Linked DNA regions of Homo sapiens: all the other regions are linked to region 2. Evidence: promoter capture Hi-C in human tissues and cell types (Jung and others, 2019). All regions are on one chromosome and are shown on one strand. Each heading gives the region's core, a stretch centred on a gene start or on the middle of the fragment in contact. The rest is flanking DNA. Distances are from core to core; before and after follow the strand shown. Region 1 has its middle 42 kb from the start of GGTLC1. Region 2 holds the start of CST7 (cystatin F). Region 3 has its middle 34 kb from the start of LINC01721.

Region 1 (4,154 bases), core at 1,528-4,027, 920 kb after region 2:
CTCAAGTATATGCATGAGGGAAAGCATGCACTTGGTTAAAAGGAAGTGGGTTCTGGGGAATGAAGCCCAAATCCGACGCGTGAAAACAGAGACTTTAACCCCAGCTAACGCACTGGAAATTTGCTTTTTCCACCTTTATACACATCTATTTGAGGTGCTAACAAAAAACCATGAGATCTGTGGAGGAAAAGTTGAGAACTTTATTTTTTATTAAATAGAAAACAATCTAGGTATCGGGAAGACACAGGCTTTGGTGGAAAACAAAAGCACATTCTGGAGAACAAAGAAAGGGTCTGGCTTAAATAAAGAAAATTCCTGTCACAGTCTTCAATCAGGTCTGTATATGTAAATGAATGATTTGAACACATTCAATTCTGATTGGTTGAAAATAACAGTCTTGACTGGGTACTTTCTAAACCCCAAACCATAAGTGTCTATTGGATGCCCTTTCAGGCTGGTTGGAGGAGATTTCCAGCCATGGTGCCTCAGCTCCCTTTACAAGAACTGTCTTAGCTCAGAGGCACAGACAGCATGTTTGTTTGGAACTGCCCTCTTCAGAAACAAAAGGCACGTGACCACCCTTCTCTAACTATGGCCATTGGGTTTCCATTATTTTAATTTGGGTGTTTCTACTAGCCATAGAGAGTCCTCTTCTCTGGAGAGTTTGGGATCTTATTAACAGTTTCATTTCACATTGGTCAGTTCTATCAAATTATGTGAAAGGCTGATTATAGGACTACAGCTGAATAAAGCACCCATAGGAAATTTTCCTGCCTCCGGGGTTACCCAAAAGCTTTTCCTGGTGGTGTGCTCAGGTGGTCCAGCTGAGAAGTGCATCTCCCTGGGAAACTCATCACAAGCCAAGTGCAACCCAAACTCCCCACCACCCAGAGCGTTCAAGAGCTTTAGTTGTAAGAAAACGCACTAATGAAAAACATCAATCCTGATTTTTCTCTAGATTCCTTAAAACCCTGGATTAAGTGAGAACACAGAAAACCAATAATCGTATTAATTTCCAAACACAGCAAATTCCATCTCCCCATCCTCTAGTTCTCTATTTTTGCTGCTTGGTGTTATGGCCTATATTAAAATATTTTATGAGATTTAGCCTTTACAACTTGCATAAGAATGTAGTTAATGCTGCGCCCTACATCGAAGAGTGTCTTCTTTATGAAGACTCAAAGGAAAACTCTCTCTGAATTTCTTACCAGAAATAGCTCTGCTTTCCCTAAGCAACTGTTTAGTTTATTTCTCATGGACTCTGAGGCCTATTGCGTTGATATTGTTCCTACTGTGTTGCTTATTGGAAAGCTTAGAGGTGAATATTTAGCCCATTTCTAGTAATTGAGTAGGACCTCGAGCCATCTGTGAATGAAACTCAGCCCTGGTTTTAGCTCCATCTTTCCTACCCCATTGTCTGTTTGTCTAGATGTCTTCACTTTGTTAAAAATATATTTAATTTTGACAGATTTTTAAACTCTGCCTCAAATCATTAGAATAAAGCTGAGTAGAAGTGATGTTTTATGGTGATGAAAAAATCCTTGGGTAAAAACATGAGTTACCATTATATCCCATATCTGATTGCATAAATCATGGAAGCACACTTTTGGTAGACAGATACACTCATGTAACACACACCATCATAACATAGAATGCCTTCATATCCCTAGAAAGTTACCTGGCAAGTAGGTGGGCTTTGGCCTTGGGAGTCAGCACACCCACTTACTGGCTGTTGATCCCTGGATATACAGCCTCAATGGGCTGAGCCACAGCTTCCTCCTTGGCCATCATACTCCTGATGTGTTTGTGATAAGGATTTGGGGCAATGTGTAATACGTGCCTAGCACAGTGTCTACAACGAAGCACAATGTCTGTCTACTATGCATTGTGTCCAGGGCACACTCACACCTAGAGACCAAATCCACACTGTGCAAAATATCTGCACACAATGGAAAGAGATAGAGGCAAGCTTTCACATTTAATTTGGCAAATAATCGGATTTATAGAAATATCTGGATTTTTGTTTTATTCCTCTCTTTATATCTTGTCAGTTCTGTCTCTCTGTAGAGCCCTGACAAAAATGGAGCCCAGGGTAGGAAGTAGTCAGCTCTTCCTCCTGAAGCTTCACTCCATGACACCCTGGTGACCTCAATGGAGACAGCTGTCCCAAATCATATTAGTTAATTGCATCTTGTACCAATTGAACATGATGACTCTTCCCCAGGCTCTAACAATCTCTTCATTGAACAACTTGCTTGTCAGATGCTTTGTCTGTTTGTATTGCTACAAAGAAATACTCAAGTCTGGGTAAGTTATAAAGGAAAGAGGTTTATGTTGTCTCCCAGTTCTGCAGGCTGAACAAGAAGCATGGTGCCAGCATCCACTCTCTTTCCAATGAGGTCCTCGGGTTGGTTCCATACATGATGAAAAGTGAATGGAAGCTCGTGTGTGCAGAGACCACGTGGTGAGGGGATGGGGAGTGCCAGGCTTGTTTTGACAACCAGTTTCTCAAGGGAGCTGATAGTGTGAGAACTCACTCTTCACTGTGAGGACAGTACCAAGACATTCATGAGGGATCTGTCCTCAGGATCCAAACACCTCCCCTTAGGCCCCCATCCAATATTGGGGGTCAAATTTCAATATGGAGTTTGGGGGACAAACATCTAAACTATAGCAGATGCTTTTCCTGCTACTAAAAGACACAGTTTAGCTGTGTTTGGCCACCCTTCTAGAGCTGATTAGAAATCTACTCACCACACAAGTATACACTGACAGCTTTCTGGGGAGACCTTGGTTATTGCATCCAGAGTTTATATGATTAAATTATAACCCTTGTCTTCTGTCTTCTCTTCCACCCCACTCCACCAGTTTCTATATAGCATCCGTCTGTTTCTATATCCTTTGTAAAATGAGATGCCTCAAGACCATCTAAAAACAGTGCCTGTCTGTGGCTGGTAGATCTTATGCATTGGTAGAAAAACATTCAGCCTGTGGAAAGGAGAGAGCAAAATTAACTTAGATGCTAAATTTTATCAGAGCTAAATTCATATTCCCCTACGGTTGGGGCAGGAAAGTCAGGTACATTTTACAAGTTCAGAAGGAAGAAAATTCTTTGTATTATTGCCTCTCAAGTTAAGTCAAATATTGGTAGCCTGGACTGGCTACATAAAATAAAATCTCATCAAGCCACAGTCAACAACTCTGAAAATAATGCTCCAAACACTACGGTTATATAACAAGAAGAATCCTTGTGTATGAACTGAATTAGACTTCCTTTCTCCAGGGAAATGTAATGGAATTAAGTCTCCTCTGTTCCCATTTAGAAGTTCATACATAATCATAGCATGTTATTACACAGACAGAAAATGAAAACTTCAAAGCCAGAGCTGGTACACAATGCAATTTATTTCTACTGGTAATAAATTGCCCCCTAGGTTATGGAAGAAGAATATGACGATGGAGACTAAGAAGAAACTAATGTCCTTTCTCAAAACATTGCAACAGCTGTGCCCATCTTGTGCGCCTCTCCAGAACTGACAGCATTGTTGCTGTTTTATTCCTTCAAGTGTTAAGTTCACCAACATCTGCTGATGGAAAGATGACAAAATATCTCTTGATCTCTGCCAAATTGGCCTGTGGATAGACACTTTTTAAAGTCATAAACTTTTTATCAGCCTATGCAGGATATTATTCTAAAATTTATTGTAGGCCGGGCGTGGTGGCTCACGCCTGTGATCTTAGTACTTTGAGAGGCTGAGGCAGGTGGATCACCTGAGGTCAGGAGTTCAAGACGAGTATGGTCAACATGGTGAAAACCCGTCTCTACTAAAGATACAAAAAATTAGCCAGTCATGGTGGCGGGCGCCTATAATCCCAGCTACTCGGGAGGCTGAGGCAGGAGAATCACTTGAACCAGGGAGGCAGAAATTGCAGTGAGCTGAGGTCATGCCATTGCACCCCAGCCTGGGCAACAAGAATGGAACTCCATCTCAAAAAATAAAATATAAATAAATAAATAATAAAAATAAAATTTATTGTAATAATTAAAAATTTGATAGAAAGCATTAGCCAAGACAATAAGCCAATCCATCAACCTCAAGAAAGCCAGGCAAAATCTTTCGAATTTCTTTAATACACTTGTCATGATGATATTG
Region 2 (4,105 bases), core at 1,365-3,864:
ACATGGCACCTGGCAGAGCTTCCCAGAAGAGATGCCCATCAGATTGAGAAAGAAACAGCCCTTTTCAAAAGGGTGGCGGAAGCCAGTGTGGCAATTTCCTAGGTTCTGAAAGCCTCAGGGAGGAGAGGTGCCCTGAGGGGCTCAGCGCTATGGTCTGTGCAGTTCAGTGCATGGGTGTGGAGAGAGGCCAGATGCTCAGACGGCACCACCCTTGGGGTCCCTGTTGCTTCCCCGCCCCCTACCCCCCTCAGTCATGAGGAAGGCTCTGTAATTTATTCTCAGAGGAGGCAGCGGAGGGGCTGTAGGAGTTGTGGAGTGGGGGCAGGACGCATGCTTGTGTCTGGGGCCCAGGTTCCCATCTCTTTTTTGCTGCTAGACTGGGGGCCTCCCAGCACCCTCCCTATACAGCCGAAGACTGAAGGCCCTTGCTGGAAGCACCAGAAATGATCACAGCGCCTGGGCAGGGTGCTGGGGGCTGTCACCAGCACAGTGGCAGAAGGGCCTGCACTAGACAGAGCAGGGGGCTGAGGCTGGCGGAGAGCACCCCATGCCCCATGTGCCTCCATGCCTGTGCCTTCCCCGAGCCACCTCTGTTCAGCCTCCCCAGGGCCGGAGACGGGGTGCAGTTATCTTCCCATTTCATGGATGGTAGGACTGAGGCTGAGGGCCCGCTCTGTGTGTGTGAACGTGGGCTCTGGAGCTTCTCTCTGGGGTTTGGTGGCTGACAGCAGGTCTGCTGAGAATGGAGGGAAAGGCTTGGTGCAGCATTACATACCAGCGAGGGGCCGGGAACACCACCCAGGAAAATGACGTTGCCAGCTGCCCAGCACATCGGCTCCCACGCCACCCTGTTATAGTCCCTAGCCTGCTCCGTGAGATGAGCAGAGCTCTGAAACCCCTCAGCAGTCAGTAGGTTTAATTAGATCCCAGGACACGCTAGGACAGCTGGCTCCATGTCCCCTCCAGGAGAGCCTTTTCTGAGGTGTGAGAACGAGCCACTTCTCTGGAGTGAACTTGCCTCTCTTCCCTGCTTCCCCCTTGGACCTTGGAGACACGAAGGGGCAGGGCACAGAATGGCAGCAGGCAGGCAGCACTGCATCAGGACAGGGCCAGGAGGAGAGGCCCCTGTGAGGCTGGGAAGCAGGTGGAGGGCTCCTTGCGTGAGCTAAGAAGGCTCCCAAGCTGGGAGGCAGGGCCGGGTATGCTGTCCCCAGCCTTCTGCCAGCCATGGGTCAGCTCCATGTTCGCTGAGCACTACCCAGAGCTGGTGGCGGTGGCATGTTCCCATCAGTGAGAGCAGAAGCTGCCCCCGGCCCCTCCTCCAGCCTGCCGTGTCCCCTTGGCTGCTCAGTCGCAGCGTCCGCCCTAGGCCAGGCCTGGGAGCTCGACACAGTGTCCCCCAGCATCACTGAGTCCTCAGTATCCTGACTCACCAGGAGGAGGTGAGAACCCTCCAAGAACCCCTTGGGTGCTCTGGAGCCATCCTCTTGTCAGTGGTCCTGCTGCACAGCCCCCACCTGGGCCCCTTTGGCCAGGCTCCAGCCCCCTTCTGTCCCTGTCTGCTGGGTGGGGGTCATATGACTTGAGCGGGTCACCTCAGCCCTCTGGTGCCAGCTTCCTGGTTGGTTAAATGAGGTGGGGGCCTCCCAAGTCCCCATCAGTATCCTGGTCTGATTCCTGTGCCAGGGAGGCCATGGCCCAGTTCCCTTTGGGGGAGAGCAGGTTGTCCCTGGCTGTGTGACTTGGGCAAATCACCTAGCCTGGCTGTGTCTCAGTTTCCCAGTGCACAGGCAGTGGCTCTTTCCTCCCTGTCCCCCCTCCCCCTGAGTGCTGACCCTCAGGGAGTGGATTTCAGGAAGGGTGAAAGAGTCTGATCGTTAGGGTCCCTGGAGCCAAGTCACAGGACAACAGCCAGCAGGAAGGAATGACAAGCCATCAGATAGAAGCGGCTAACCACAGGCATGTGGCTGCCCTGTCGCCTCCGTCCCGCAGAGGAGCTGCGGGAGACCTGCCTTACTTAGACCTTTCTCAGACCTCTGTGAAGAGCCAGAGAATAGAAGATGCTTCCCTTGCCCCTAGCCTTCTGGGGCAGCCCCCAAACCCTTCATCCCTGTAGCCTGCTACCCCCAAAGGTAGCTGCAGCCAGATGGAGCCCCTTGCCCCTCTCACCACTCCCAGCACCTCTCACCACCGCATGGTCCTGTGGGGGCTCCAAGCTAGGAAAGTGCCCTGGGGAAGACCCAAGGCACCAGTGGCCAATCTCAGGGAGAGACCCCCGGGGAGCGGACAGGGGAGAACGCCACTTACCTGGGGAAGGGCCCCCAGTGGTGCTCAAGACCAGGCAGCAGAAGGCCAGCAGAGTTCCAGCCGCTCGCATGGCTGCCCGGGTAGGGACAGTGCGGGGCAGTTGGGGGTGGCCGTGCAGTGCCTTCTCAGGCAGCATGGGGCAGTTGGAGGCAGTGGTTGGTGCCCGTGCCGAGCCTTCTTGGGTAGATGGCGCAGGGCAGGTGGGGGCAGTGGTCTGTGCCCGTGCCAATCCTTCTCAGGCAGCACGGGCCAGTGCCGGGCAATGGTTTGTGCCTGTGCTGAGCCTTCTTGGGCAGCATGGAACAGTGGGCTGTCCCAGCCCAGGGGCAGGTGCCAGGGCCACAGCATGGAACCCCACCCTGCAAACCACTGTGGGATGGGGCAGGGGCGGGGCTAGGGGGCTGCCTGCGTGGTGCTGGGGAGGGGAGTGTTTTGCTGCTGAATCATTTTGGCCAGAAGCTCTTCACCTTCAGATCTATCAGCCACAAAGCAACCGCTTCCTTTATAAAAGTTTCCGAGCAGCCGTCATTTGCTGGGGGAGGAGGAAGAGACATGAGACCCATGAGCAAATCCTGATGCAATGTTCTACCCCTGAGCCACACACGAAAGAGATGTTGCATGAAAAACATTAGCAGGAATTTTCAAAAGCAAAATCACTTGATTTTCCTTTTTCTTTTAATTACTTAAGTTCTGGGGTACATGTGCAGAACATGCAGGTTTGTTACATAGGTATACACGTGCCATGGTGGTTTGCTGCACCCATCAACCCATCATCTACATTAGGTATTTCTCCAAATGCTATCCCTCCCCTGGCCCCGGATCCCCAGATAGTCCTTGGTGTGTGATGTTCCCCTCCCTGTGTCCATGTGTTCTCATTGTTCAACTCCCACCTATGAATGAGAACATGCGGTGTTTGGTTTTCTGTTCTTGTGTTAGTTTGCTGAGAATGATGGTTTCCAGCTTCATCCATGTCCCTGCAAAGGACATGAACTCATCTTTTTTATGGCTGCATAGTATTCCATGGTGTATATGTGCCACATTTTCTTTATCCAGTCTACCATTGATGGGCATTTGGGTTGGTTCCAAGTCTTTGCTATTGTGACTAGTGCTGCAGTAAACATACGTGTGCATGTGTCTTTATAGTAGAATGATTTTTGAGTATATACCCAGTAATGAAATTGCTGGGTCAAATGGTATTTCTGGTTCTAGATCCTTGAGGAATCACCACACTGTCTTCCACAATGGTTGAACTAATTTACACTCCCACCAACAGTGTAAAAGCGTTCCTATTTCTCCACATCCTCTCCAGCATCTGTTGCTTCCTGACTTTTTAACGATCACCATTCTAACTGGCATGAGATGGTACCTCATTGTGGTTTTGATTTGCATTTCTCTAATGACCAGTGATGATGAGCGTTTTTTCATATGTTTCTTGGCTGCATAAATGTCTTCTTTTTAGTGTCTGTTCATATCCTTCACCCAATTTTTGATGGGGTTGTTTTTTTCTTGTCAATTGTTTAAGTTCCTTGTAGATTCTCGACATTAGCTCTTTGTCAAATGGATATATTGCAAAAATTTTCTCCCATTCTGTAGGTTGCCTGTTCACTCTGATGACAGTTTCTTTTGCTGTGTGGAAGTTCATTAGTTTAATTAGGTCCCATTTATCAATTTTGGCTTTTGTTGCTATTCCTTTTGGTGTTTTAGTCATGAAGTCTTTGCCCATGCCTATGTCCTGAATGGTACTGCCTAGGTTTTCTTCTAGGGTTTTTATGGTTTTAGGTCTTAAGTCCTTAATCCA
Region 3 (3,988 bases), core at 189-2,688, 780 kb after region 2:
ATTTTGCACTTTCCTGTGTACATCTTACACTCCACAAAAAATTAGAACCCCAAATGAGGTATGCATCAGGAAAAGCAGCATGATTGTGAGTTACTTTGTGAAGAGGAAAGTCAGGACACCCCGCATTTTTCCACTGTGAGCTTGGCTGCCACATGCAGGAGCATGGGAAGTGCTGTGGAAATTTGCCCCTCCAGATTCACCAGGGCTCTGCCCTTCCTCAGCCTCATTGCTTTGGGACTTTCCGTCCTGGCGACCACCCCACTTGGAACTTGCACTGACCTCATGGCTGCTCTTTCTGTCATTATTCTAAACATTTTAAAGTAATTTTCTGAGGTTATGTGTGGACAATTCATTCATTCCCCAAATGTGGGCTGAGGATCTGCATATCTTGTGCCACACATCGTGCAAGGCCCAGATGGTAAGAAGATGAACAAGACTAAGCTCCTGCCATTGTAATACACACAGCTAGTGAGAAACACACCGCAACAGCCATGTGTGGAAGAACGGAGGGTGGCCCATGTGCTCTGGGCGTGGAGGCTGGTGTAAGCGCCTGGAGAGGTCTGGGGATGAGCCATTGGAGGGGGTCTTGATGATTGATGGGTGCTAGACAGGGCCATTCCTGCATGGTGACCTATCCATGTAGGAGTGGGCTGGAGACTTCAGAGGAGTGAGTCCATGGCAGCAGGTTAAGAAAATAGACTGAAATAGCCTTCCATCCCTACTGTCTCACAGCAAAAAGGCTCCTTCCACCCTGGGAGGCTTGCTTCCTTCTGGTGTGTTTGTGCTTGCACATGGTTGCATTTATTTCCCTTTCACTCTCAAATGCCAGGTGCAGCCTCCTGCCAGGGCTACTGCTGAGTGAGCTTGTGATGGAAAAGGTTAGAGGCTTCAGGCTGAGAAGAGCAGCCAACCTTTTCATGGAGGGCCACACTGTGGCCTCAGAGATCTTCTCTCCCAGCCTCTGCCTCCCAGGAGAATGGCTCCTTGAGGACCCCAGGCCTTGGGTCAAAAGCCAGCTATATGAAGCACATTCCTGGGAGGCCAGGCGCTGAGGCACCAGGGGCCAGGAGGAGACAGTGATGAGGCAGTGGGTACCGAAAGCACTTGGGAAGGTTGCAAAGGCAGACTGACTTGACTTTGCATTGCTGCTCTGTCCAATCACGAATGGCCAAGAGCTATCCTACTGATATTCCCTGTTTTTTTGTTTGTTTGTAAGATGATGGCATGAAGGATTAGTGGTGGAGAATCATATTTGCTCAACCAATGTGTTGATTACCATGGTTCTTCCTGCCCACCGCAGGCCAGGCCCTATGCCCTGCAGTAATCCTGCTTCCTGGGGCTTTCTAATCCCTTTATCTTTTTTTATATTTGAGGCTCTGTTGCCAGGCCTAGTAGAGGCAACCTTATACTCTCGTGATTCCAAATGGCTCTAGGCTACTGGAGAAACCCTGGAAACCACACACAACTTTCCAGGTGTTAAAGAAAAAAATATCCAATGGCATTAGTTAAAGCACAGTAAGGAAGACTTTGTTTGGGACTGCCATGGCAGGCACAGGGATAATAGCAAAGGATCTTGCAGCGAGGGAGAGAGACTGGGCTCAACTCTGAAAACAGCATAGGCAAGTGGAAATTTATAGCCAAGGACCAGGGGGAGGGGTCAGTGGATGGGCAATTACTAAGAGGCTACTTTAGGGGTACAGGGATTCTGGCTAAGCCACCTCACAGGATTCCTGCTGAAGGTAGGTCGGGGTGATAGGTCATCATGGGGGATGGTGGAGCATGGTGAGCCTGATCAGATATCACCGAGGGGGATCAGATATCAGGGGCGGGGAGTTCTCGCTAAATTGACAAAGCAGGGATTGCTAAAACAGATGTCACAAGGAAGTGTAGGAGAAGGTTCAGAAGCCCTAGGAGAAGGTTCAGAAAACTGACTAAAGTTTGGTCAAGCAGAGAATCTTTGTCATAGGTGATCATCCAAACCAAGGACTCAAATCTGTTTGATCACATCCTGCTATGATGAAACACACTCCATGTGTCTACTTAGTGCTTTATAAATGATGGCCACAAACTCCTGTACCCTGCATACCTTGTACTCAATACCTTGTGAAATATGCATTACAATAAAATATTTAAAAGGTTGAGATAAAAATAAAAGCATGTTTTATTACTTTGTTTACCCTGATGGATCAACTTGAGAACACTGCCTTGGAGTATTCTTTTGGGTGTTCTTGGCACCCAAGCCAATTGGCTGGACCTGCAGGCAGCCTCACGGAAGTGAGTGTGGGAGGCCAGAGACTGACCATGCTGCAGGCCTGGTTCAGATCTTCTCTCTGGGGCCTGAGTTTATTTGGTTTCCTTCTTTTCATTTTTTTTTTTTTTGGTTCATTTCTTTTGTTTGTTTTCCATTCTAGACAAGCTCTGAAATGAAACAATACCAGGCCAGTACTATATCCCCGGGAAATGTCAAAATGAAAAATGATCTCCTCTCAAGCTTTTCTTTTCCAGGCAAAATAAGCTCCCTTATTCTGAAACGTCCTCACTTCTCCACCCTGTGAAAAGTCACAGGGTGGAAAGTAACAGTCCAGTTTCTCATCGATGACGCTTCCTGGAAGGAACTGTGCCCTGGGTCTGCTTTGGGCCTAGACTGTGCTTAGAGAAAAAAGGCCAAGTTTATAACATGTTGCTCCTTTGTTTTCCTGCCCCACCCCTAATTCCTCCATCTCTAGCAAGCAGGAGATGAGGTGAGGAAGCCTAAAAATTAGCATTTTGTTTTCTGCTGACATGGTGGCTGATTGTGTGTTTTTTAGACACAGTTATTCAGCTGAAGTCATGGAATATTGACACATGGGGCAAGCTTCGTGCAAGAGTTTCACCTCTCTGACTGTGCCGATAAGGGTATATGTTAACACTCATTCATATCACATTTGTTTTCCTGAAACTCAAGGAAAATTAAAGTATCAGAAATCAAAACTTTCCTATGAACTGCACAGCCTATAATCTCCCAACTGGGGCAGAGGAAATTGTGAGCGCTCAAATCCAAACCAGGCAGTGCTCGCTGGGTGTCCAGGCAGGGTTGGTTCTAGAAGCATGAGCTGGTCTCGGAGGGCAACTTTGTGCAAAGTCCTTTCAACATGGGAGAAAAACTAGCACATATACAAATGCAATATTGGAAATTACTTTCTATCTTTATCCTGTCTTGTCTTTATTTGTGAAATGCTGAAAAACACAAAAAAGTAAGACAATCATAATCCCAGCCAACCCTCAGTGGGGAGCAACTTATCAGGAGTGCATTTATTTTGCTTTTCCTGAAGCCTTCAGTGTCCTGGAATCTAATATTGAAATCCTAACCCTTCATTCAACAAGGAAACGACCCTGATGAATTCCAGCAGCAGGGGGCACCAGAGCCCCAGCCGCGGGCAGGCGCACCTCAGCAGTACTGCTGAGTGGGTTCCAGGCCACCACAATAAAGAGAATCCCACAGGATTTATTTTTGTTTCTCAGTGCATATAAAAGATATGTTTACATTACATTGTAGTCTACGTGGTGTGCAATCACATTTTTCTAAAAAAACAATGTATATATCTTAATTTAAAAATACTTTATTGCTAAAAAATTGCTAACAATTATCTGGGCCTTGAGCAAGTCATAATCTTTGCTGGTGGAGGGTCTTGCCTCAGTGTTGATGGCTGCTGACTCATCAGGGTGGTGGGTGCTGAAGGTTGGGATGGCTGTGACGATTTCTTAAAAGACGACAGTGAAGTTTGCCACATCAGTTGACTCCTTTCAGAAAAGATTTCTCTGTAGCATGTGATGCTGTTTGATAACATTTCAATAGCATCTACCTACAGTAGAACTTCTTACAAAATTGAAGTTAATCCTCTCAAACCCTGCCACTGCTTTATCAGCTGAGTTTATGGAATGTCCTGAATCCTTTGTTGTCATTTCAACAATGTTCACAGCATCTTCACCAGGAATAGTTTGCATTTCA

The links. The method cuts DNA at HindIII sites, captures the fragments that hold promoters and counts their contacts. A contact is called where the count stands out against the background at its distance.
Region 1: a fragment that was not itself captured here is called in contact with the fragment with the promoter of CST7 in region 2 in 1 of the 25 tissues and cell types used here (stomach).
Region 3: a fragment that was not itself captured here is called in contact with the fragment with the promoter of CST7 in region 2 in 3 of the 25 tissues and cell types used here (H1 embryonic stem cells, aorta and stomach).

What each region holds. Positions count from the first base shown.
Region 1 is chr20:24,028,489-24,032,642 of GRCh38, reverse strand. No RefSeq gene overlaps it. Among named protein-coding and RNA genes, the nearest start is that of GGTLC1, 42 kb to the right of the region's middle. The HindIII fragment of the contact is 3,450 bases long and covers 1,053-4,154 here.
Region 2 is chr20:24,947,778-24,951,882 of GRCh38, reverse strand. CST7 (cystatin F) reads right to left here and starts at 2,614. Exons shown (of 4, transcript NM_003650.4): 1 at 2,308-2,614. The coding sequence starts at 2,377. RefSeq lists an enhancer at 2,899-2,948. The HindIII fragment of the contact is 14,192 bases long and covers 1-4,105 here.
Region 3 is chr20:24,163,967-24,167,954 of GRCh38, reverse strand. No RefSeq gene overlaps it. Among named protein-coding and RNA genes, the nearest start is that of LINC01721, 34 kb to the left of the region's middle. RefSeq lists an enhancer at 3,228-3,522. The HindIII fragment of the contact is 6,325 bases long and covers 1-3,988 here.